4 separate regions of the Homo sapiens genome follow, and regions 1, 2 and 3 are each linked to region 4. The links are contacts of gene promoters, found by promoter capture Hi-C in blood cells and fetal thymus (Javierre and others, 2016). All regions are on one chromosome and are shown on one strand. The core of a region is centred on a gene start or on the middle of the fragment in contact, and the rest is flanking DNA. Distances in the headings are between cores, read along the strand shown. Region 1 has its middle 26 kb from the start of PMAIP1. Region 2 holds the start of DSEL-AS1 (DSEL antisense RNA 1). Region 3 overlaps PMAIP1 (phorbol-12-myristate-13-acetate-induced protein 1). Region 4 holds the start of SERPINB8 (serpin family B member 8).

Evidence for each region. The method cuts DNA at HindIII sites, captures the fragments that hold promoters and counts their contacts. A CHiCAGO score of 5 or more calls a contact.
Region 1: a contact is called between a fragment that was not itself captured here and the fragment with the promoter of SERPINB8 in region 4, in 1 of 17 cell types (M0 macrophages). The highest score is 5.8, in M0 macrophages.
Region 2: a contact is called between a fragment that was not itself captured here and the fragment with the promoter of SERPINB8 in region 4, in 1 of 17 cell types (non-activated CD4 T cells). The highest score is 6.2, in non-activated CD4 T cells.
Region 3: a contact is called between a fragment that was not itself captured here and the fragment with the promoter of SERPINB8 in region 4, in 3 of 17 cell types (non-activated CD4 T cells, total CD8 T cells and activated CD4 T cells). The highest score is 17.0, in non-activated CD4 T cells.

The regions. Positions count from the first base shown.
Region 1 is chr18:59,871,807-59,876,970 of GRCh38, forward strand. No RefSeq gene overlaps it. Among named protein-coding and RNA genes, the nearest start is that of PMAIP1, 26 kb to the right of the region's middle. RefSeq lists an enhancer at 4,128-4,387. The HindIII fragment of the contact is 1,664 bases long and covers 1,979-3,642 here.
Region 2 is chr18:67,516,384-67,521,335 of GRCh38, forward strand. It overlaps DSEL-AS1 (DSEL antisense RNA 1), which reads left to right and starts at 163. Exons shown (of 5, transcript NR_033921.1): 1 at 163-366. It overlaps DSEL (dermatan sulfate epimerase like), which reads right to left and starts at 337. Exons shown (of 2, transcript NM_032160.3): 1 at 1-337. The HindIII fragment of the contact is 2,888 bases long and covers 1,396-4,283 here.
Region 3 is chr18:59,901,166-59,906,824 of GRCh38, forward strand. It overlaps PMAIP1 (phorbol-12-myristate-13-acetate-induced protein 1), which reads left to right. Exons shown (of 2, transcript NM_021127.3): 2 at 1,482-3,140. The coding sequence ends at 1,588. Among named protein-coding and RNA genes, the nearest start is that of PMAIP1, 4.0 kb to the left of the region's middle. RefSeq lists an enhancer at 3,661-3,830. The HindIII fragment of the contact is 5,229 bases long and covers 1-5,148 here.
Region 4 is chr18:63,966,830-63,972,242 of GRCh38, forward strand. SERPINB8 (serpin family B member 8) reads left to right here and starts at 3,252. Exons shown (of 7, transcript NM_002640.4): 1 at 3,252-3,341. It overlaps LOC105372165 (a long non-coding RNA gene), which reads right to left and starts at 3,675. Exons shown (of 3, transcript XR_935576.3): 1 at 2,494-3,675; 2 at 1,158-1,444; 3 at 1-39. It also overlaps a transcript of HMSD not described here. RefSeq lists enhancers at 3,084-3,133, 3,164-3,333, 3,626-3,920 and silencers at 3,394-3,593, 3,604-3,663, 3,734-3,953. The HindIII fragment of the contact is 1,474 bases long and covers 2,283-3,756 here.

The DNA of each region.
Region 1 (5,164 bases), core at 1,561-4,060, 4.1 Mb before region 4:
TTGAATAAACAAAACTCAGGTCCTGGCAAATATGTATGCAACTAAGTGTTAAATCCCCTGTAGTTCAGACACGTCCGCTGCCTAAGATCACATGCTGAGTTAGAGTCGGGACTGAGTTAGAGTCGGGACTAGACTCCAAGACTCTCCACCGTAGACTTGTTTCCCTTTACTCCCTTCAGTATTTTATGAAATGATTTTTTTTTTTTGAGACAGTCTCCTTCTTTTGCCCATGCTAGAGTGCAGTGGTTATTCACAGGCTCCATTACTGCACACTGCAGCCCTGAACTCCTGGGCTCAAGCGTCCTCCCACCTCAGCCTATGGAGTGGCTGGGACTAAAACCACACATCACTGCACCTGGCTGAAATGACTTTAAGCTTGGAATTCAATGCCTGTTTAAAACTTAAGTACTGACCTGACCGGGCACTGTGGCTCACACCTGCAACCCTAGCACTTTGGGAAGCAGACGCCTGAGGATTTCTTGAGCCCAGGAGTTGGAGATCAGCCTGGGCGACAGAGTGAGACTCCGTCTCAAACAAACAACAAACAAACAAAAAAACCACACACAAGTGTTTTTAGGTATAGCTTCTCACTATTTTCTTGTTTCTTTTCAAAGATTAATGAATTATATACATTTTATATAAAGTTCTGAAATGTATAAAGGATGCAAAGGTTTATTTTTCTTGAAATTTTGAGAACTCCTTTTTATTGTATACCACTTAAAATGGTAAACAGGAGACATATTTGCTGAATAACAATGTAGAACTGAACCTTGTGACTTAAAAACAAATCCTCAGCTGAAAATAGCATCTAGGCGAGATGTCCCTGCACTGGAGAGTGACATCAGAAACTACAGCCACAAACAATTTTCTCAAGATAATGGAACTGATAGGGGGCAGGGGGAGGTTCTAGAAATCTCACAAAGGAGAATCTCAAAAAGAGATCTGGGCTCATAAATGTCTATTTACAAACCCTGGGTTTGAAAAATACACTCAGTGAAAACATGTTGAATTTTGTAAAGGAAATCAGCCAATCATAAAGGATTTTGGCACAAAGCTGGCTTTTACCTTTTTTCTTTCTTTTCTTTTTTTTTTTGGTTTTGTTTTGTTTTTGAGACGAGTTTTGTTCTTGTTGCCCAGGCTGGAGTGCAGTGGTGCAATCTTGGCTCACTGTAACCTCCATCTCCCAGGTTCACGTGATTGTCCTGCCTCAGCCACCAGAGTAGCTGGAATTACAGGTGCCACCATGCCTGGCTAATTTTTGTATTTTTGGTAGAGACGGGGTTTCACCATGTTGGCCAGACTGGTCTCAAATTCCTGAACTCAGGTGATCCGCCCGCCTCAGCCTCCCAAAGTGCTGGAATTACAGGTGTGAGCCACTGCACCTGGCCTGGCTTTTAGCTTTTAAAGCTGGATATTTGAATTTCTAAAATTCTTAATAATTTGCCTTATTTGAATAATTAATTATGCTACTTCTTGCTATTTTGTTCAATGCCACTGTTAGTATTAAAACAGAGTTCAAGCCACTTGAACTGACAACTAATATCCAGCTAGTAGATCTATCCTAATATTGAGTGACACAGGGCCTTCACAATCAAACCTTTGGCTTTTGGCCAGGCGCGGCAGCTCATGCCTGTAATCCCAGCACTTTGGGAGGCCAAGGTGGCCGAATTGCTTGAGCTCAGGAGTTCGAGACCAGCCTGGGCAACATGGCAAAACCCTGTCTCTACCAAAAATACAAACAAATAGCCAGAAGTGGTGGCATGTGCCTGTAGTTCCAGCCACTCACGGGGCTGAGGTGGGAGGATCGCTTAAACTCAGGAGACAGAGGTTGCAGTGAACCTAGATCACTCCATTGCAGTCCAGTCTGGTTGACAGAGTGAGATCTCATCTCAAAACAAAAACAAAAACAAAACAAAAAACAAAAATCTTTGGCTTTCACTCTTGATTCTTTTTTAAAATAGACAAGCACAAATTTCCAAGCTTCTTCTGTGCATCTGGGCAGGAAATGATTATATCTGACGTTGATCTAAAAACAACTGGGTCATATCCTTATATTTATACAAACATTAGAAAGGAGTAGGCATTATGGAAACTTCTGTCTGTTAGAATGAAAGTCCAGATTTTATTCCAAATTGTGTTCTCTATCTGCCACCAAGAATCCTAGAAAACAATGTGAAAAAGCCTGAAAACTTTCCAGATAAAGTTGGAGGAAGCCACCAAGACGCTTCCCACTTTAGAGGCTATTCAGAAAACTCTGCTATCGGGTGAGATAAATCCTTCTGGGACAAAACTCTAAATGGATATGATTCCATTAGAAATTATTACAGTATTTTTATTACAATATCTATTTGGAAAGACACTTTTACAGAACAGCTCCAATTGAAGACTGAAGAAACAACAAGCAACTAAAACCAAAATACAACTACAATAAATCCGTTTACTTTCATAAAATTGTCTCAGGGTTTACGAAGGGATTTTACACATATTTGGTCATTTGAGCGATCAAAGGAGAAATTACATCATGCTGGTTTGTTTTCAAATGGCCTGGACTTCATCTTCCTTGGTGGAATTCATAAACTACTGATGTGACTCATCATCGAAGGCTGACATGTCTCATGCACCCAGAATGCACCGACCACTGTCGCACACTTTACTCTTGATGTTCAAGTTTAGAGGTAGATCACCTCTCTTTAAGAGCTGCCTGAGACAAATCCATGAAAACAGACTTGAGAACTGGTATAGACCAGTGCAAAGAACGTCGGTGTCAGGAAATAGCCTGAATTTTAGAATGAAAACCTCTTATATTTATCTTGTTGGGTTTTGGTTTTTCTCCCCCAGCTTTATTGAGGTAAAATTGACAAAAAAAAAATTATATATATTCATGGCCAGGTGTGGTGGCTCATGCCTGTAATCCCAACACTTCGGGAGACTGAGGTGGGAAGATCACTTGAGATCAGGAGTTCGAGACCAGCTTGGCCAACATGGTGAAACCCTGTCTCTACTAAAAATACAAAAATTAGGCTGGGCGTGGTGGCTCACACCTGTAATCTCAGCACTTTGGGTGGCCGAGGCGGGCAGATCACCCGAGGTCAGGAGTTTGAGACCAGCCTGCCCAACATGATGAAACCCTATCTGTACTAAAAATACAAAACATTAGCTGGCTGTGGTAGTGGGCGCCTGTAATCCCAGCTACTTGGGAGGCTGAGGCAGGAGAATCACTTGAACCCGGGAGGCGGAGGTTGCAGTGAGCCGAGATTGCGCCACTGCACTCCAGCCTGGGTGACAAGAACGAAACTCTATGTGGAAAAAAAAAAAAATTAGCCTGGTGGGGTGGCGCATGCCTTTAATCCCAGCTACTCGGGAGGCTGAGGCACAAGAATCGCTCGAACCCAGGAGGGAGAGGTTGTGGTGAATTTGCACTCCAGCCTGGGTGACAGGGAGAGACTTTGTCTCAATTTAAAAAAATAAAAAATAAAATAAAATATATATATAGTTTACAACATAATGATTTGATATATGTATACATTGTTTACCACAATGATTACCACATGATTACCACAATCATATTAATTAATACATCCATCACCTCACCAAGTTACCATTTTCTGTGCATGTGAATGTGTGTGTGTGTGACAACACTTAAGCTTACTCTCTCAGCAAATTTCAAGTAATCAACACAGTATCCTTAACTATAGTCACTATGATGTACAGAATGTATTTTTTTTTGAGACAGAGTCTTGCTGTCGCCCAGGCTGGAGTGCAGTGGCGCAATCTCGGCTCACTGCAAGCTCCGCCTACCGGGTTCACGCCATTCTCCTGCCTCAGCCTCCCGCGTAACTGGGAATACAGGCGCCCGCCACCACGCCCGGCTAACTTTTTTTTGTATTTTTTAGTAGAGACAGGGTTTCACCGTGTTAGCCAGGATGGTCTCGATCTCCTGACCTCGTGATCTGCCCTCCTCGGCCTCCCAAAGTGCTGGGATTACAGGCGTGAGCCACCGCGCCCGGGCAAGAACATGTTCATCTTGTAACTGAAAGTGTGTACTCTTTGGCTGTCTTCTCCCTATTTCTCTCACCATCCCCCTTGGCCCCTGGCAACCATCATTCTACTCTCTGCTTCTGTGAGTTGATTTTTTAAGATTCCACACAGAAGTGAGATCACACAGCTTGTGTCTTTCTGTGTGTCTTATTTCACTGAGCATAAGGTCCTCCAGGTTGAACCTTGTTTATTTGAATCTCAACTCTGCCCTGCTTTTGCTAGCAATTTAGCCAAGGGCAGTTTTCATATCTTGTAAAATCGAAACAATTCTTACTTTACAGGGTGGCGGTGAAAGTTAAATAAGACACTGTATGAAATGTGTGCCCCTGAAATTACAGTCTAATCCATTTACATTATCCTAGTTATCCAGGAGCCTGTAGGTATAAAAAGCAAAAACAGGAGACATATTTGGTGAATAACAATGTTGAACTGAAACTTGTGACTTAAAAACAAATCCTCAGCTGAAAATAGCACCTAGGAGAGATTACCCTGCACTGGAAAGTGACATCAGAAACCATAGCCACAAACAATTTTCTCAAGATATGGAACTGATAGAAATCTCACAAAAGACAGCCTCAAAAAAGGGGTGTCTTTTATGCTAGCCGTCACTCTTTACCCTTAACTGGTCAGAATTTTGTGCTCTAGTCCCAAAGTTATTTTCAGATAGTCTGCACCTCCACGTTTATTCAAACAGTATTCCCAAGAGCCAAGATATGAAATCATTGATTCCAATAAGAGATGAATGGATAAAGAAAATGTGGTACATATACACCTCGGAATACTATTAAGCCATAAAAAAGAATGAAATCCTGTCATTTGCAGCAACATGGATGGAACTGGAGGACATTATGTTAAGGGAAATAAACCTGGAACAGAAAGTTAAACACAACATGTTCTTACTCTTGTGGCAAAGCTAAAAATAGTTAATCTCATAGAAGTAAAAAGTAAAACAGGCTGGGCACGGTGGCTCACGCCTGTAATCCCAGCACTTTGGGAGGCCGAGGCAGGTGGGTTGCCTGAGGTCAGGAGTTCAAGACCAGCCTGGCCAACATGGTGAAACCCGGTCTCTACTAAAAATACAAAAAACTAGGGGCGCTTGGTGGTGGGCACCTGTAATTCCAGCTAC
Region 2 (4,952 bases), core at 1,590-4,089, 3.5 Mb after region 4:
TCGGCGCCGCACTGGGCCCCAAGGGAGACGGAGGTGGAGAGTTCCAGAAAACTGCTCTGCACGGCGGGCCAGGCTCCCGCGGGGCTCCGCAAGACCCCCGCGTCGTCTCCCGCGCTACGGCAGGCGCTGCCCCAGCTCGGTCTCCTCAGCCGCGCTCGGTCCCCGCGACCCGCACGGCCCGGACACGCCCGCCCTCAGGAAACGCCGGACGCTTGTGGGGGCAACCACGGACCGCAGGACAGAGACCCGCGGGCGGCGGGTTCTCTCGGTGGCGCCGTATCCAGAGCAGCGCCCGCGTGCCCAGGCGGTGATGTCGCCGCGGCCGAGGATCCTCTGTGCCAGCTCCGGCCGCGCAGCCCGGGGAGGGTGAGACGGCGACGCGGGCCGGCAAGCGGGGGCGGGGCGGAGGCAGGACGGGGCGGGGTTGAAGGCGGGGCTGAAGGCGGGGCCTCAGGGAAGGCGAGAGACAGCGACGCTGGCTGGCGGGCGTGGGGCGGGACGGAGACAGGACAGGGCGGGGTCAGAGGCGGGGCTTCGGGGAGGACGGGAGGAGCCGTGAGCAGGCCGGCGGCGGGCGGGGCGGGGCCGAAAGCAGGTGAGGCGGGGCCAAGCGCCCCGGGTTTCTAAGCGGAGGAAGCTCTAGGCGTTTGTGTTCTGGGCTTGCAGCGGTGGCCGCGCGCTCCCGGAGGAGTCGAGCTGGAGGAGGGGACAGTTTGGGAGTGCGAGAGTCTAAAGACGCTGCCAGGCTGGCGTTAAAACCTTTTGGTTATGGGAAGACGACAACTATATAATAGAGCCATAGTGGGGGCTGTGGGATTGACTCAAATGATGGGAGGAGCTGGAGTGGGAGGGGATAAGCCCTGGGACGACAGAAATCATCCTTTTGGAAAGAGCAAGGGCTGGGGAAGGAGGGAATGAGCACTCCCTTGGAACTGAGAGGCAGCCTGGCTGAGCTTGCTGTCCTTTGGAAAAGCAAAACCGAAATACCCAGATTAATATAGGAGGACAACTTCTGTAGCCCAGATGCTAACAAAGATCAAGGGAAAACAGAAAAGACTAATCAGCTTTACTGATGGAAAACAATTTCTCAGGCAGTATAAATAGGGGAAGCATGGGACAAACAAGTAGAAGGAGCCTCTTATTTAAAAATGGGACCTGGTATTCGGTAAAGACCTACATGCAGACAGGAGAAGGCAGTGTGCCCCGGCTACTACGACATGTGAGTGCAGTGCCAGGTCGTGGAAATCCTAGAGCAGGCTGGGACTCCTGTTGCACTCCACACATGGAGCTTCTCACAGATAGCTGAGATGACACTTTGGCATAAACCAACCCAAGCTCTGACCTCAAATGTAAAAAATAATAGCTTAGTAGTAATAAAAATACAGGGAAATATCAAGCTTCACAAATGAACAATTCCATTCTCAGTTGGGGATTAGTAACACATTCAGTCTCTTCATTTCCCATACTATTTTGGTAATATTTAATAAGATATATTTTAACATTTTAAAAATAAATGTCTTGCTTAGATCATTTGCTGCTGAAAATCAAACAGTAGACGACTGCTAGCAGAATAAATTTCAAATCATTTAACTTTGAGGTGAAATGTGGCCTCTAACTCCTCATCACTCTTCTGTTTTGGCCCCGTAGTAACCCCTAGCCCAGTCCAAATAGCCACACTTGCTTTTGCTTGGGTGCTTCAGTAACTATGCTTATTCCATTCTTTCCCTCACAGTGTCCTTTACCCAACCACCCCACTTACTAGTTAAAATTCTTCTGACTGTTGAAATTATCTGATCATCCAGGTCTCAACTCAGATGCTTACATTCTTCTGTAAATAACTCCTAAGTTTCCCTAGCCAGAATGTATTACTCCAGAACTATATCATTTGTACCTATATTCGGCCGTTTAGGTTGTTTATTTTCTGCTTTCTATTTCAACTGGTTGACTCCTGTACCCTATTCAAAACTCCTTCAAGTCATGAGTAGCACTCAAGTCCCCTTTGTAAGTACTATATCTGCTTTTGAAATGAGTTGAACCTCGAACAATTGGGCTGATACAGAGCCTCGTCTCCTCCACTGAGGTTTATTCCCAAACAAGGATCCTCTTCTGACACAACTTCCTGTAAAATCTGGATTGTGCCTCTACATGGCCCCTGATAGAGGAAGAGGACCCATGGCCTCCAACCACATTTATGAGAGAGTAGAGTTGGGGGAAACGGGGAGCTGACTCCAGAGATTCCTATCTGTTTGCAGAGGGGAGCCTAGAATTTAGGGTTAGTAAACACAGCTACTAGATGTACAGAACATTTCTCAGAACAAAGTGTGGGGCAGGGTTATTTCTATGGATTCAAAGTGTCTCATGATGCGAGGGCAAGGTGAGTCAGAGAGAATTAATGCGCGAACATCTGCCAGGCAAATATTCTTCCAATGTTGTTTTCAGATTTTGAAATATCAGTATGATCATTTTCACTTTAGAGAAGAATGAATTCAGGTACCGACATTGTGGCCTTTCAGCTCTGCCCCATGCATCTGTGCTGAAGCAGTGGGGATGCAGCTAGCCTCCCAGCATTCTCAGATGGGCTTTCAGACTAATTCATTTTGAACAGACATCTTTGCATAGTGGTAAAATGTGAATGCATTAAAATAAAACAAGAGCCACAACTGAACAATTCAAATCATTGGCAGAAAGGGTGGTAGGTAAATGGCACTGTCAAAAATGAAGAGAGTCTTGTTTTCTGTGAACTAAAAATGGATAGCTCCAATTATTGCTCCTTCCACACATGAAGATGGTACAAAGTTAGTTAATTATAAATAATGCATCCGACCATAGAAGGGATGAGCTATATGCTATGTTATTGTACATTAAAAACCTTTATGAGTGTGGCAAGAGACACATGTACCAACAGCTGCTAAATTCAGAATCCTGGAGCAGTATCTTATTTTAATGTAAGTGAAGAACAGTGCAGTCTATTGCTCTGGGGATTTCTCTCTATATAAAAGGATCTTAAATCTACATGAGATTTTACTCCGTGATTTCAAAGTACTTATGAAAATCTGTTTTCTTTATTTGCCTATCTTTCAACCTACCCACAACCACCTATCTTACAACAGAAACAATGCTTTCTAGAGTAGATTCTCCAGAACAGAAGCCTTTCTCGCGCTCCTTTCCTTCCTTTCTTCCTTCCTCTCTCTCTCTTTTATTTTTCTTTTAAAATTTTATTTCTCAACATCTATCCCAGAGCCTGGCACTTTTTGAAAAATGTTTGGTGAATGTTTAACATGAATTATCGCCCCCATTTTATGACAGAAGAGAAAAAGTCATAAAGGTCTAAAGTGGGTTACTACATTCTAAGCAGAGTCACACACTCTTTCTCCTGACTGTGCTGAGAAGCCTCTTACCACACAACCCATAATTGGAGCTATGCCTTGAGGTGACTTAATTCAAGTGAAACATGAGACTGGAAAGTCATACAACATTTTCAAGAGGATTTCTGCATTAATTGTATATGTTAAGATAGGCAAATTCAAGCTCTGAGCCTGAGAACGATAAAGTACAAGCCATAAAACAAGCCTAGACACTACATAAAGTCCCTGATCTAAAATCACATTTGTCCATGATCTGTTATTCTGGTGGTTTTTAAATAAATGGGGCCAAGACATTCAAGAACTAGTTGCTGTGCATTCAGCAACTCCTATGCACAGGTCTCCAATACCTGGGCTTTCAAGCAGCATAGCCATTTGAATATGGAGACGGCTTTGTTATTCTTCTCATAGCATAATCCACCTTTGCTACAGCTTTGGCCGTGAAAGCTCAGATGCAGATTTCTCGAACCACTTACCAGGGCCAGATGTATATTATATTGATCCACTAGCAGTATTAGAACTAGTGTCTGCCCCAGAGGTTAGGGATATAGCATCTGTAACTGTTTAGAAACAGACACCAAACTTAAGCTGCAAATTTTATTGCCCAGTTGGCCAGCAGTAATAGGCCACACCAATAATAAAGACAAAACCACAAGTTTAAAGCAGGCAGTAGAGTCTGGAAATACTTTTTTTTTTTCCGCAATTGCTTTGAATACAAAACATCTCAAAATGACAGGGATTTTGCCTGCAGAGTTGCTAATGAAGATGTGGCTAAGAGTGTTTCTTGAGTTTGTTTATCCAGCTGCACAAGAGTCAGTATGACAGTAAGTAGATTTATTAAAACTTAAAAATACCAAAGCCAAATTCTGGGGGAAAAAGTTTCCCCATAAGTCTACTAAAGCCTTGAATTCATAAATGAGAAGCTTTATTGCTACCATATTTGCTTACATACAGTTTAGCTTTTGATATGAAAGAAAAATTTAAACAAAGTAAAACTTGCAAAGGGATCATAAGATGTTTTCTCCAGGGCTCTTCCACCCTCCCTTTCCCCTGGCCTGGTATCCTTACACCAGTGTTTCTCAACAGGACATTTGGCAATGTCTGGAGAAATTTCAATGTTGGTCTCGGTTAGTGGGAGGGACTGCTGGAATCTAGTGAATAGAGGTCAGGATGCTACTAAATAGCCTGCAATGAACAGGACAACTTCTCCTCTCCTCCTGCCTCACAAGTCAAAGAATTATGCAGACTAGAAAGTCAGTACTGCTGAGAATGAGAAACTCTGACCCATCCCACTGACTCTAAAAATTGATTATGTGCTAATTGTTGGTAGTTCAAATCAATTCCTAAATTGTCCCCCTGACTTGCCAATTACCTATTTGCAGTTTGTTCTAGAGCCAGCCGTTATGGCTAAAATGTATGTGTCCCTCCAAAATTTACATGTTGGAACCAAATTGGTAGTATTAAGAGGTGGAGCCGTTTGGGAAGTCCTCTTCTCATGAATGACATTAGTGCCGTATAAAAGAGGTGCCTTAAAAAAAAGGTGCCCTAGTTTCCTTTTGGCCTTTTGGTCTCAGTCTATGTTGTGCTTAT
Region 3 (5,659 bases), core at 1,284-3,783, 4.1 Mb before region 4:
GGTCCGACTTAATTCCCAAGAACAGGAAGCAGCACAAAGTCCCTCTTAAACTTGATTTGATTGATACTAATACATTTATAGGTGTGTAATGCAATTTTTAAAAAATTAAGGAAATGACCGGGAAGTATTTTCTGCCTTGTTTTCTACATTTTTGGTGAAAGGGATAACTTTTCCACTTAGAATTCAGGGCTTCCAGTGTCGGACGCTGAATGGTATTTGGTTTTTCTTTTAGAACTGTATATTAATATATCTCAATCTCTGTAGACAACATGTCTATGTAAATACTTCCCAACATATTTGATCTTGTAGCCCATAAAGAATAACACCTTAAGGGATTTATTAGGTCTCTTGGTGTAGGAGTTAGGAAAGATTTCACTCACTTCTTGTAGAGAGAAATTGGTTGAAATATAGGTTTAAGATTTTGCTTTACTATATATTGACAGCTTTGATTTATTTTGAGCCTAAATACGGTATTTTCAGGGTCGATTTATAAAATAGACCAGATTTTAATTTGTAATCATGATTTTTTAATGTTTGTAATCATGAAGTGTACCCGAAAGACCTCAAGCTGCTCTTTGAAATATTCAAGAAAATTGAAATTATAGTCAGTATAGATACGATATTATAGTCAGTATAGTGTTAACTGCACTTACTGAAAAAAAGTGTACTTGGAAATTATAAGCATCATTTTTCTTAATATTCAGTTAGAATAACTCAATTCCAAAAAGTAGTAAACATGTGAATTAAACATTGCTTATTTTCTGCTCCTCTCATTTCCATAAAGGCAATGGATTGGTACATAATGGGGTTATAGGAAGAAGTGGGTTTACATTAAAATAGAAATGTTTAAATTATTTTAGAGAATGTGGACTTAATTTTAGAATAAGATTTTATGAGTCTTTTATGAAAAAATATCAGCGTTTTTTAACGAGAAAAAGAATACCTCTAGATTTGCCTATATAATGAGAGTATAACCTAAGCTGTAAATTATTGCCATTTGAAAATCAAATCCTACTTGAAAGCCACACAGAACTTGACTTCTGTTTCCCAGCCAACCTTAAATGAAGAGAAAAAGATGACATCATCTAAGGCTGGTGACTTATGCTACTCTTTGTAGCATTGCTTTTAAAATAAACAAAGTGGTTTTACAATGTTCTCACATCCCAAAGAATGATAATGCTACTCTTTGTGGTATTTGACATATTTGAAAGTAAGGTAACACTTGCCTCATCCAGGATGCGTTTTTTAAAAACTCAAAGTAAATGTCTTTATTCTTACCTTAACGATTGCTTTCGGTGAGTCACAATGTGTGTAAGTGTGTGTGTGTGTCACATTTGGAAAACAGGTGCACATAAAGCCAAAGTTAAGAGAAATGCTTCCTGGGATACTCAATTTGTCACTAGTGTGGGCGTATTAGGTTTTGCTGGTTACAGTCTGTAATATCATCAATGTTCATGTCCATGTTTTGCTTTCCTTCTCAGAGCTGGAAGTCGAGTGTGCTACTCAACTCAGGAGATTTGGAGACAAACTGAACTTCCGGCAGAAACTTCTGAATCTGATATCCAAACTCTTCTGCTCAGGAACCTGACTGCATCAAAAACTTGCATGAGGGGACTCCTTCAAAAGAGTTTTCTCAGGAGGTGCACGTTTCATCAATTTGAAGAAAGACTGCATTGTAATTGAGAGGAATGTGAAGGTGCATTCATGGGTGCCCTTGGAAACGGAAGATGGAATACATCAAAGTGAATTTCTGTTCAAGTTTTCCCAGATTATCATTCTTTGGGATGAGAGAACATTATAAAACCACTTTGTTTATTTTAAAGCAAGAATGGAAGACCCTTGAAAATAAAGAAGTAATTATTGACACATTTCTTTTTTACTTAGAGAATCGTTCTAGTGTTTTTGCCGAAGATTACCGCTGGCCTACTGTGAAGGGAGATGACCTGTGATTAGACTGGGCGGCTGGGGAGAAACAGTTCAGTGCATTGTTGTTGTTGCTGTTTTTGGTGTTTTGCTTTTCAGTGCCAACTCAGCACATTGTATATGATTCGGTTTATACATATTACCTTGTTATAATGAAAAAACTCATTCTGAGAACACTGAAATGTTATACTCAGTGTTGATTTCTTCGGTCACTACACAACGTAAAATCATTTGTTTCTTTTGACTCAAATTGTATTGCTTCTGTTCAGATGATCTTTCATTCAATGTGTTCCTGTTGGGCGTTACTAGAAACTATGGAAAACTGGAAAATAACTTTGAAAAAATTGGATAAAGTATAGGAGGGTTACTTGGGGCCAGTAAATCAGTAGACTGAACATTCAATATAATAAAAGAACATGGGGATTTTGTATAACCAGGGATAATAAAAAGAAAAAAGAAGTTAATTTTTAATTGATGTTTTTGAAACTTAGTAGAACAAATATTCAGAAGTAACTTGATAAGATATGAATGTTTCTAAAGAAGTTTCTAAAGGTTCGGAAAATGCTCCTTGTCACATTAGTGTGCATCCTACAAAAAGTGATCTCTTAATGTAAATTAAGAATATTTTCATAATTGGAATATACTTTTCTTAAAAAAAAGGAACAGTTAGTTCTCATCTAGAATGAAAGTTCCATATATGCATTGGTGAATATATATGTATACACATACTTACATACTTATATGGGTATCTGTATAGATAATTTGTATTAGAGTATTATATAGCTTCTTAGTAGGGTCTCAAGTAAGTTTCATTTTTTTTATCTGGGCTATATACAGTCCTCAAATAAATAATGTCTTGATTTTATTTCAGCAGGAATAATTTTATTTATTTTGCCTATTTATAATTAAAGTATTTTTCTTTAGTTTGAAAATGTGTATTAAAGTTACATTTTTGAGTTACAAGAGTCTTATAACTACTTGAATTTTTAGTTAAAATGTCTTAATGTAGGTTGTAGTCACTTTAGATGGAAAATTACCTCACATCTGTTTTCTTCAGTATTACTTAAGATTGTTTATTTAGTGGTAGAGAGTTTTTTTTTTCAGCCTAGAGGCAGCTATTTTACCATCTGGTATTTATGGTCTAATTTGTATTTAAACATATGCACACATATAAAAGTTGATACTGTGGCAGTAAACTATTAAAAGTTTTCACTGTTCTTTTCTGTGTGTTAATTTTGTCTTCATCTTGTAAGCTACTAATTACTAAGTGTTCATTATCAAGCCAAAGTATTTTAACTGATTTCCATCAGCAGACATCCTCTGACCTTCTGACCACACTGTCTCCTCCCAGTAGTTGGAGTAGAAAATATAGGGGAGTTTGCATGATTTCTGCTCTCAAGGGACTTACACTTTAATTGGGAGGGGAAATAGTGAAAAATAGGAAATGAATGCCCAACATAGGTCCTTTTTTTTTTTTTTTCTGAGACAGAGTCTTGCTCTGTCGCCCAGGCTGGAGTGCATTGGCACAATTTTGGCTCACTGCAACCTCTGCCTCCTGGGTCTAAGTGATTCTCGTGCTAAAGCCTCCCCCACACGCCACCACACTGGGTAATTTTTGTGTTTTTAGTAGAGACGGGGATTTCACCATGTTGGCCAGGCTGGTCTTGAACTCCTGGCCTCAAGTCATCTGCCCGCCTCGGCCTCCCAAAGTGCTGGGATTACAGCCTATACAGATTCATGATCTAATTAGAGGTGTTTTGTGAGCTGGCATCCTTGACTGCTCCTGGGTCTGTCTGGCAAGAGGAGCTGCAGTGCAGTTTCCTTTTTGGTGACCTCACGCTTCTTCCTCTGCTTCCAGCCGTAGAGTAGCAAAGATTGCTTCATCTGAGGTTAGTCATGTGCAAAAGTAGGTGTAACTCAATGGCCTTCCTGTTTGAGTGTGAGAACTAAAAGATACCCCTAGTTTTTAGCTTCAATCTGGTAGCCACATCTTCACCCCACCTCTGCCAAGGGAAAGAGTCAGCTGACACCTTAGAATGTAAATTGCCTTCCTAACATGGGAAACGTGAGGGAAGAAGGAGGAGTTACTAGAGGAAAAGAAGAACCAGAGAGCTGGAGGATGCAGGGTTATGGGCAAGATACATAACAATCTGGAGGGAGAGGCTTTTCTCTGGGAAAGTGGGGTGGAGGTGGGAGCTTGGCTTCAGAAAGGGTGGGGACAAACTACATGATTTGATTTGAGAATCACTGGAAGAGTAACTCCTGTCTCTGAGCCTGCTCGCATAGCCAGAATTGTTTTGCTAAAAGTGCACCTTATTAGTTCTCGCCACCACTAGAAAACAAGGAAAAAAAGTGTACCTCAGGCTCTTCTTTTATATAAAGAGTAGCACATGAAGGCTTAGGCACAGATTCACAATCTTCAGATATTAGAGCTATATATTCTTTGAGAACCATATTTTAATGTTAAAAAATGTCCAAGATGTTCAGGCAATTCTAATTATATCTGTTGACTGACAAAAACTGCTAGCTTTTAAATTTGCATTTATATTATAAAAGAAAATGTATCTATCTGTGAATAAGTTGTTCTTCACTTTAAAGAACTGTGTGCTGTGATTTGGGTTTTGGAATCCATTGCAATAACTCTACAAACTCCTCCCTGCCCCACTTCCTCTCAATCACGGAGCAGAAACCACCTAAAGGGTCAAAAATCCTGTAAATCTCATTGTCAATCGTCAAAGGGGACGATCCATCAGGAAGAGAACAAACACCTTAAAAATAGAATAGTGACTGGAAGTGCTGCGGTACAAGGAGTATCCCACTTTAGAATCTTGAAGGTGGACTTTCAAGGCAAAATCATGAATGAGCTGTGTGACCTTGGGCAAGACAACCTCTCTGAGCCACAGTTAATCTCTGAAATTGAGACTTAGATCATCTTTAAGGTCCCCTGAAGTTTGAATCATAAAATGGGATGGCAAAGGAGTCTGAAGGTCTCCCACCATAGTTCCAAGTCTGTCGGCCCCCACTCCTGAGCTCATTTCAGACACTAAGAGGAAAGTTAAGGGTTTGCAAAAAGAAGCAGGGGAGTGGGATTTTAAAAGACCCCCCCCCCCAAATTTCTGTTTTCTGGATTCTTCCCCCAAACATTGATTCTAAATCTTAGAGGAGGTTGAGTGGGAACCTCTTGGACTTGTATTTTCTTAGAAAGGGGAGTTTGCTATGCATGCAAGCTTTCCCAGTGATTGTATCACTGCCAGAATTCCTTCTTATGTGGAGCTGAAAGTAGATAGGGTCACTTGATAGACATACCCTGCGGTGTCATCACGTGAATCTTCTCAAGTAATAGTTCATGGTTAAAGAGCAAAACATTTGTCAATACTGCCCAGGCACTAACTTTAGTTTCTCTTTTAAAAACTTTCAGAAATCTGTTTAGCCAATTCAGGGTGAAACATTCATGCTCACGATTTATTCCCTTATGGTTTTCTTCCAAATATACCATTCTTCAAATCACCAGAGAAACAGGAGAGTTGGTAAGAGTTATAGATGGGGATTTTGGATTCTTTAATTTATCAAGTAATTAACCACATGCTCTGGGCACCTCCCAACCACCCCCCGCCCTGATACAGTCCATGTAATCTATGCTGTCTGCCATTAGACATTGCTCAGTGCGAGAAGCCTCAGCTTGGATTTACACTGTGCAATAAGATAGAATAGAACAACATAGAATGTGCAAATAACT
Region 4 (5,413 bases), core at 2,002-4,501:
GGCAAATCACACAAACTACCTCTATTTCACCATCCTCTCCTGCAAAATATAAGGAACAGCGTCAACAATATGGTTCTTTCAAATGCTTACATTTTATGATGCTATGTTTGTTTCTCTAGCATTAATTAGCTGAAGCAAGTGTGTTTTGTTTTTGCTTTTTGTGTTTTTTTACACTTTCTCAAAACCAGGGAAGATTGCTGGGAATCTCATGGGAGATTGAGAGCTGTGGCCGGGCATATATGAAGTAACTTTTGCTAGAGTATATGGTCAGTCACTGAAGGATATTTTGGAACTCCGGTGAGACTCTTTGTTTTTTGTTTGTTTGTTTGAGACAGTCTCGCTCTGTTGCCCAGGCTGGAGTGCAGTGGCACAATCTCAACTCACTGCAACCTCCCGAGGTTCAAGCAGTTCTCCTGCTTCAGTGCCCCCTAGTAGCTGGGGTTACAGGCACCTGCCACCACGCCTGGCTCATTTTTGTATTTTTAGCAGAGACGGGGTTTCACCACGTTGGCCAGGCTGGTCTGGAACTCCTGACCTCAGGTGATCCGCCCGCCTCGGCCTCCAAAAGTGCTGGGATTACAGGCATGAGCCACTGTGCCCTGCCCCGTGAGATTCTTTAAGGTGGAGTATTTGTGCATTTTACAGCAAGGAGTACAGAGACCTCGAATCACCCCAGGAAGCTCCAATTATGCCTGGACTCTACTTCCTTCTTGACAAGTGGAAGTCTAATTTGGAGACGGTGGTAGCTCAACCTGAGACTAGCCTAGGAGTGTGCCCTTCCTGAGGTCCACAAAGTCAGGAGCCGAGGGAGTCAGACAAAACTAGGTCAAGGTTGAGTCGGGAGTTGAGAACCAGCAGATACTCCCTAGTACTGACTGAAGAGATGTGAAGTTAGGTATGAGGCAAGAAGACAGAAGATGAGGCTGAGGACAGTTTCTGAGGCACTGAATTATATACTCTGGAACCTTATCAGTTACCTGTTGTGTCCCCAGTGGGCCAGGGTGGAGTGGGGAGCCTGTTCAGGCTCACTCTGAAATTGGGCTTTAGTTATTCTGAGAGATGGGTTTCCCTTCAGGGCCCAGCATTTAAATTGTCCATACTCAGAAAATAAATACAATTAATCCTCGTGAATATCGACTTGCAGACAAATTCCTTACCTAGGAAAACAGACCAGTTCTACTTTTCATTGCATTATTTCAAAAATTAGATTTGTTCATTCTTGGATTCATCTTTGATTCTTCCTGCTCCCTCTTCCTCTCATGGTCCAAGAAGTGATGCCAAATTTATGTCCTGGAAATTCCTCAAGGCCATGTCCTCCTCTCCATTTCTCCTGCCTCTGTTTCATTTCAGCTTTCCTCATCTCTCATCCATGCTGCGTCCTTAACGCCTCACTGCAGGCAATGGTACCCTCCTACAATATACTCCATGTTGCAGCCAGAGGGACCTTCGTAAATACAAATATGATTATGTTTCTCCCCAGCTTAAAATCCTTTTGTGTTTCCCCATAGTCCACAAGGGAACGAAGAAACACCACCAACAGCGTCCACATGGCCTTCACGACATGGCCCTGTGGACACATCAGACGTTGTCTTGCAGTGCCTCATCCACACTATCTGTACCACTGCAGGCCTGGATACGTCATGGTTTTCATGGTGCTATCTTGTGCCTCTTTGCACCTGCACGCACTGTGTTTCCTACATGGGATATCTGTGTTTACAACCAAACTCCCAGGGGCCAAATTATATCCTTTGTAAAGGACTTCAAACCACCAGGCATTTGCTGGAAGTTTCACGGAGGAAAACAAGCATTTTTCATCTTTTAATCTGTTTTGCTGGTCAAAGAGGAAAAGGAGTGGATGGACAAAGTGGGGCCCAAAGTCTGGATCTAGTTCTGACCAACAAGGAGAAATTGATGCACAATGGGGAAGTGACCTTGGCATTTTCAACTGGCAGAGCCGGTAAGTTTGGGCACAGTTCAAATGTGAGTCTGTAGCCACTAGAGAGAGGGGTTTCAAAGTCATGGAGAAAAGATGGGGGTGAATCCTGCACCAAGACTTATTGAGGAGAGTTCTTGGGAACAGTTACTTTTAGGATTCCACAGGGAAATCACTGAGCGAGTTTTACAAAATACTGCTGCTGGGTTCCCTCCTCCAAGAGATCTTTACTTAATTGGTTTGGGGTGCAGAGTGGGAATGTGCATCTTTAAAAGCAGAATTCCCAAACTGGAGAGCTCTGTGAGAGCTTCCTGCAGGAGACATTATTTGAACTGAATTTTGAAAGACAAGCTTGCATGCCAGGAACCCCATGTATATGAACAGAGGATATGAAGGAATGTAAATAATTTGCTATGGCTCTAAAGAAAAGAAGGGAGAAATCAAGACGTGAAGAGGCTTACACTCCTTGCTCAATAGTTTCTAATTTATCTTTTTGGATAAGAGGATGTTATAAAGGATTTTAAACTGAGGTATAAAATAATTAGAATTGGAATGTTTACCTGAACTTCAGAGTAGGCAATAGGTTGGCATGGATCAGAACTGTAGGTAGGAAAATTAATTGTTTAGGAGAGACATGAGACATGATAGAGGTGACAGAGTATGGACAGGAGGAACACAAAAGTGATAGAAGTAACAGGACTGTTGATCATTTAGTTAAAAGAACTGCGGAGGGACACACCCAGGTTTCTGAGAGATGTCCAGTAGTACACAGGTAACATCTACGGCTCGAGACAGGTTAGAGATTTTGAAGAAATAAGTTAAAAGTTGAAACATGAACCTATGGATATAGTGGAGGTCATACAAGAAGATCATATTATAATGAAAAGAAGAGGGCTTAGAATGGTAGGAAAGGAATCAGGATACCAAGCAAAGGAGTCAGGAAAGAAGGGAAGGGTGCTCTGGAAATCCTGGGAAGGTCAAAGAAGAAAGGGCTAAATGTCGCCAACAAACAAAATGAAATAAGACCTGGGATGTATTTTTTGGCCAAGGCAATTAGAAAATGATTAGTATCCTTATCAGGAGCAATTTCAGAGAATGTTTGGGTGGACGTCTAACTACAGTGGAGTCAAACGTGAATCAACGGTGAAAAAAGGACAATAGCCAATGTGTACACTTTTTATAAAAACCACCCTCCAAGGACCAGGCACTGGCCCTCTCTCCGGTGCCCACAGACATCCACACAGGCCCAAAGAATCAGGGATTGCACAAGCCAGAGCAATCGAACGGTTCTGAGTCATCTGCCGGAAGCCTTGCCCTCAATCAAGGCGGACGTGAAGCATCTACAAAGGAGGAATAGTCAAAGCAGCAGCGGCGGCGGCGGCGGCGGCAGCAGCAGCAGCAGCAGGAGGTGGGGGCCTCTGCCAGGTACCGGGCGGGGCAGGCACGGAGGTGCCCAGGTTCCCGCGGAGGCCACCTCTTCCCTGGAGTGCGTGAGAGAGGGGAAGGGAGGAAGGCCAGAGCAGGAATCAGAGCGAGGCAAAGGCGGGCAGGAACTAGGAGAATGACGGCGGGAGGCGGCCGGGAAAGAGAGTCGCGGGGCTGTGGGGGTCGCCCTGGCACCAGCCGGGGTCCCAAGCCCCACCGCGAGACCCGGCGAAGGCCGAGGGCCGGGTCCCGAGAACAGGTGCGCCCAGACCCGCCCTGAATAGGAAGCTGCCCCTGGAGAGGGAGCGTCTGTTTCTAGGCTTGCGATTTGCTGCGCTGTGATTTGCTGCCGGATGGGAGCGGGGGGTGACGCGAGCAGTGAGTTTGGAAGCGCCGGAAGCTTGGGCGGGAGCCCCGGGAGGGCGAGTGGGAGGAGCCGCCGCTGCGGAGGAGGCTCCGGGAGTGCGGGTGGCGGGGCCTGGAATTTCCGTGGCGCCTGGGGCAGATCGGGGAGGCGCCGAGTCCCTGCTCCCCTGGCGCCCAAGCTTGCCCCTGTGCTTACAGCCTATTGGTTGCACCTTCTCCTTCCCTTCCTGTCCCCCCCCTCCGTTCTTTCCACCCCTGCCTTCATCTTTCTGTATCTTTCATATTCTCTTCTTCATTGTCTGCTTCCTCTCAAATGGGATGGGGTTGGGGGTGCTTCTTCACCTACGCCCCTCTCTGTTGCAGCCACCGGCGTTACTTTAACCAATTCCTCACTTTCCAGACACTCTCAGTCCTCTGGCTGCTGCTTCACTCCTGAGACCTCTCCATTCCAAAGGGCCTCACCCAGGGCTGCTCTCCGGGCCCCTCCCGCTTCCCTGCCTCGGGCTCTGCGTAGACCGCGCCCTCTTCCCTGGGTCCACTCGCAGGGGCAGACTCGTCTCCCCAGTTCTCCCAGCACACCCTGATGGCTGGGTCTCAGTCTCCGTTTCGCGCGCGCGCTCTCCCCTCGCCCTCCTCTGTCTCTTCCTTTTACTACCTCCAGATATTGGAAATTCCACAGAAATAGGTGGATTTCTTCCCTTGTGCCTCCACTAGATGTTCTGTGTAGTTTCATCCATTCTCATGGAACCTCTCGGAATCGGGATGCTGATGGCTCCAGGTCTCTGGCTCTAGACAGTCTACTCATCCCCGTCCCTAACTGTTTACAAACATCCTTGGCTGTCTTTGTTACAGGTTCACCTGGTATGGTGTGTTCCACGCATCTCAAATGGAACAAGTCATATTCCCCATTCCAGCCTGACTCCTCATTTAAAATTCCAGTGGTTCACGACCCACCCTGAGTATGAATTTATAACAGCTAGGCGCCTCGGGACTGGGCCCTCCTGTGCTCTGTCCCTATGTGAGCAGTCACTGCCTGGCAATTCCAGCCCCCACTTCTCTATTGCAGACAATCCCTCTGCTTTCAGCAGTCCCTGGCCCATGGTGGTGGCCTACGCGCCAGCTCCCCAGCCTCTTTTCATACCAAATACTGAGCCGGGTTATCTTTCTAAAGCCCCAATGCACTCATATGAGACGTTTGTTTAAAAACCATGCATGGCTTTCCAGACCATAATCTCAAGTTCAAACTCCTAAATGTGGCATAAGGGTCCGTCCTATCTCACTACCACGTGGCTCACAGGAAACCATAGAAACCCACCCCAGGGGCACCACACAAACCATGCCCTTTGTCTTCCTGCCACATTCTTGGCACCTGCTAATTCCTCAGCCTATTATTTGCATCCCCCATTTCACCACCTACGGAATGCCTGCCCGGCTTTTCTTTTTTCTTTTTTTTTTTGATATGTGGTTTTAATAAGTTTCATTACCTATTGAATAAATACAAAAGAACATTTAAAATGTGTATTGAATTATAAAGAACAGCAGTACAACCCATCACCCAGTTTAATAACTGGAATATTGTCATCGCTGGAGGCCGTGTTTCCCTACTGATCACACCCTCCTCCCTCATCACATCCGCTTCCCTCCCCTCTGTATCACCACCTTCCTGAGTTTCATGATAATAACGACATA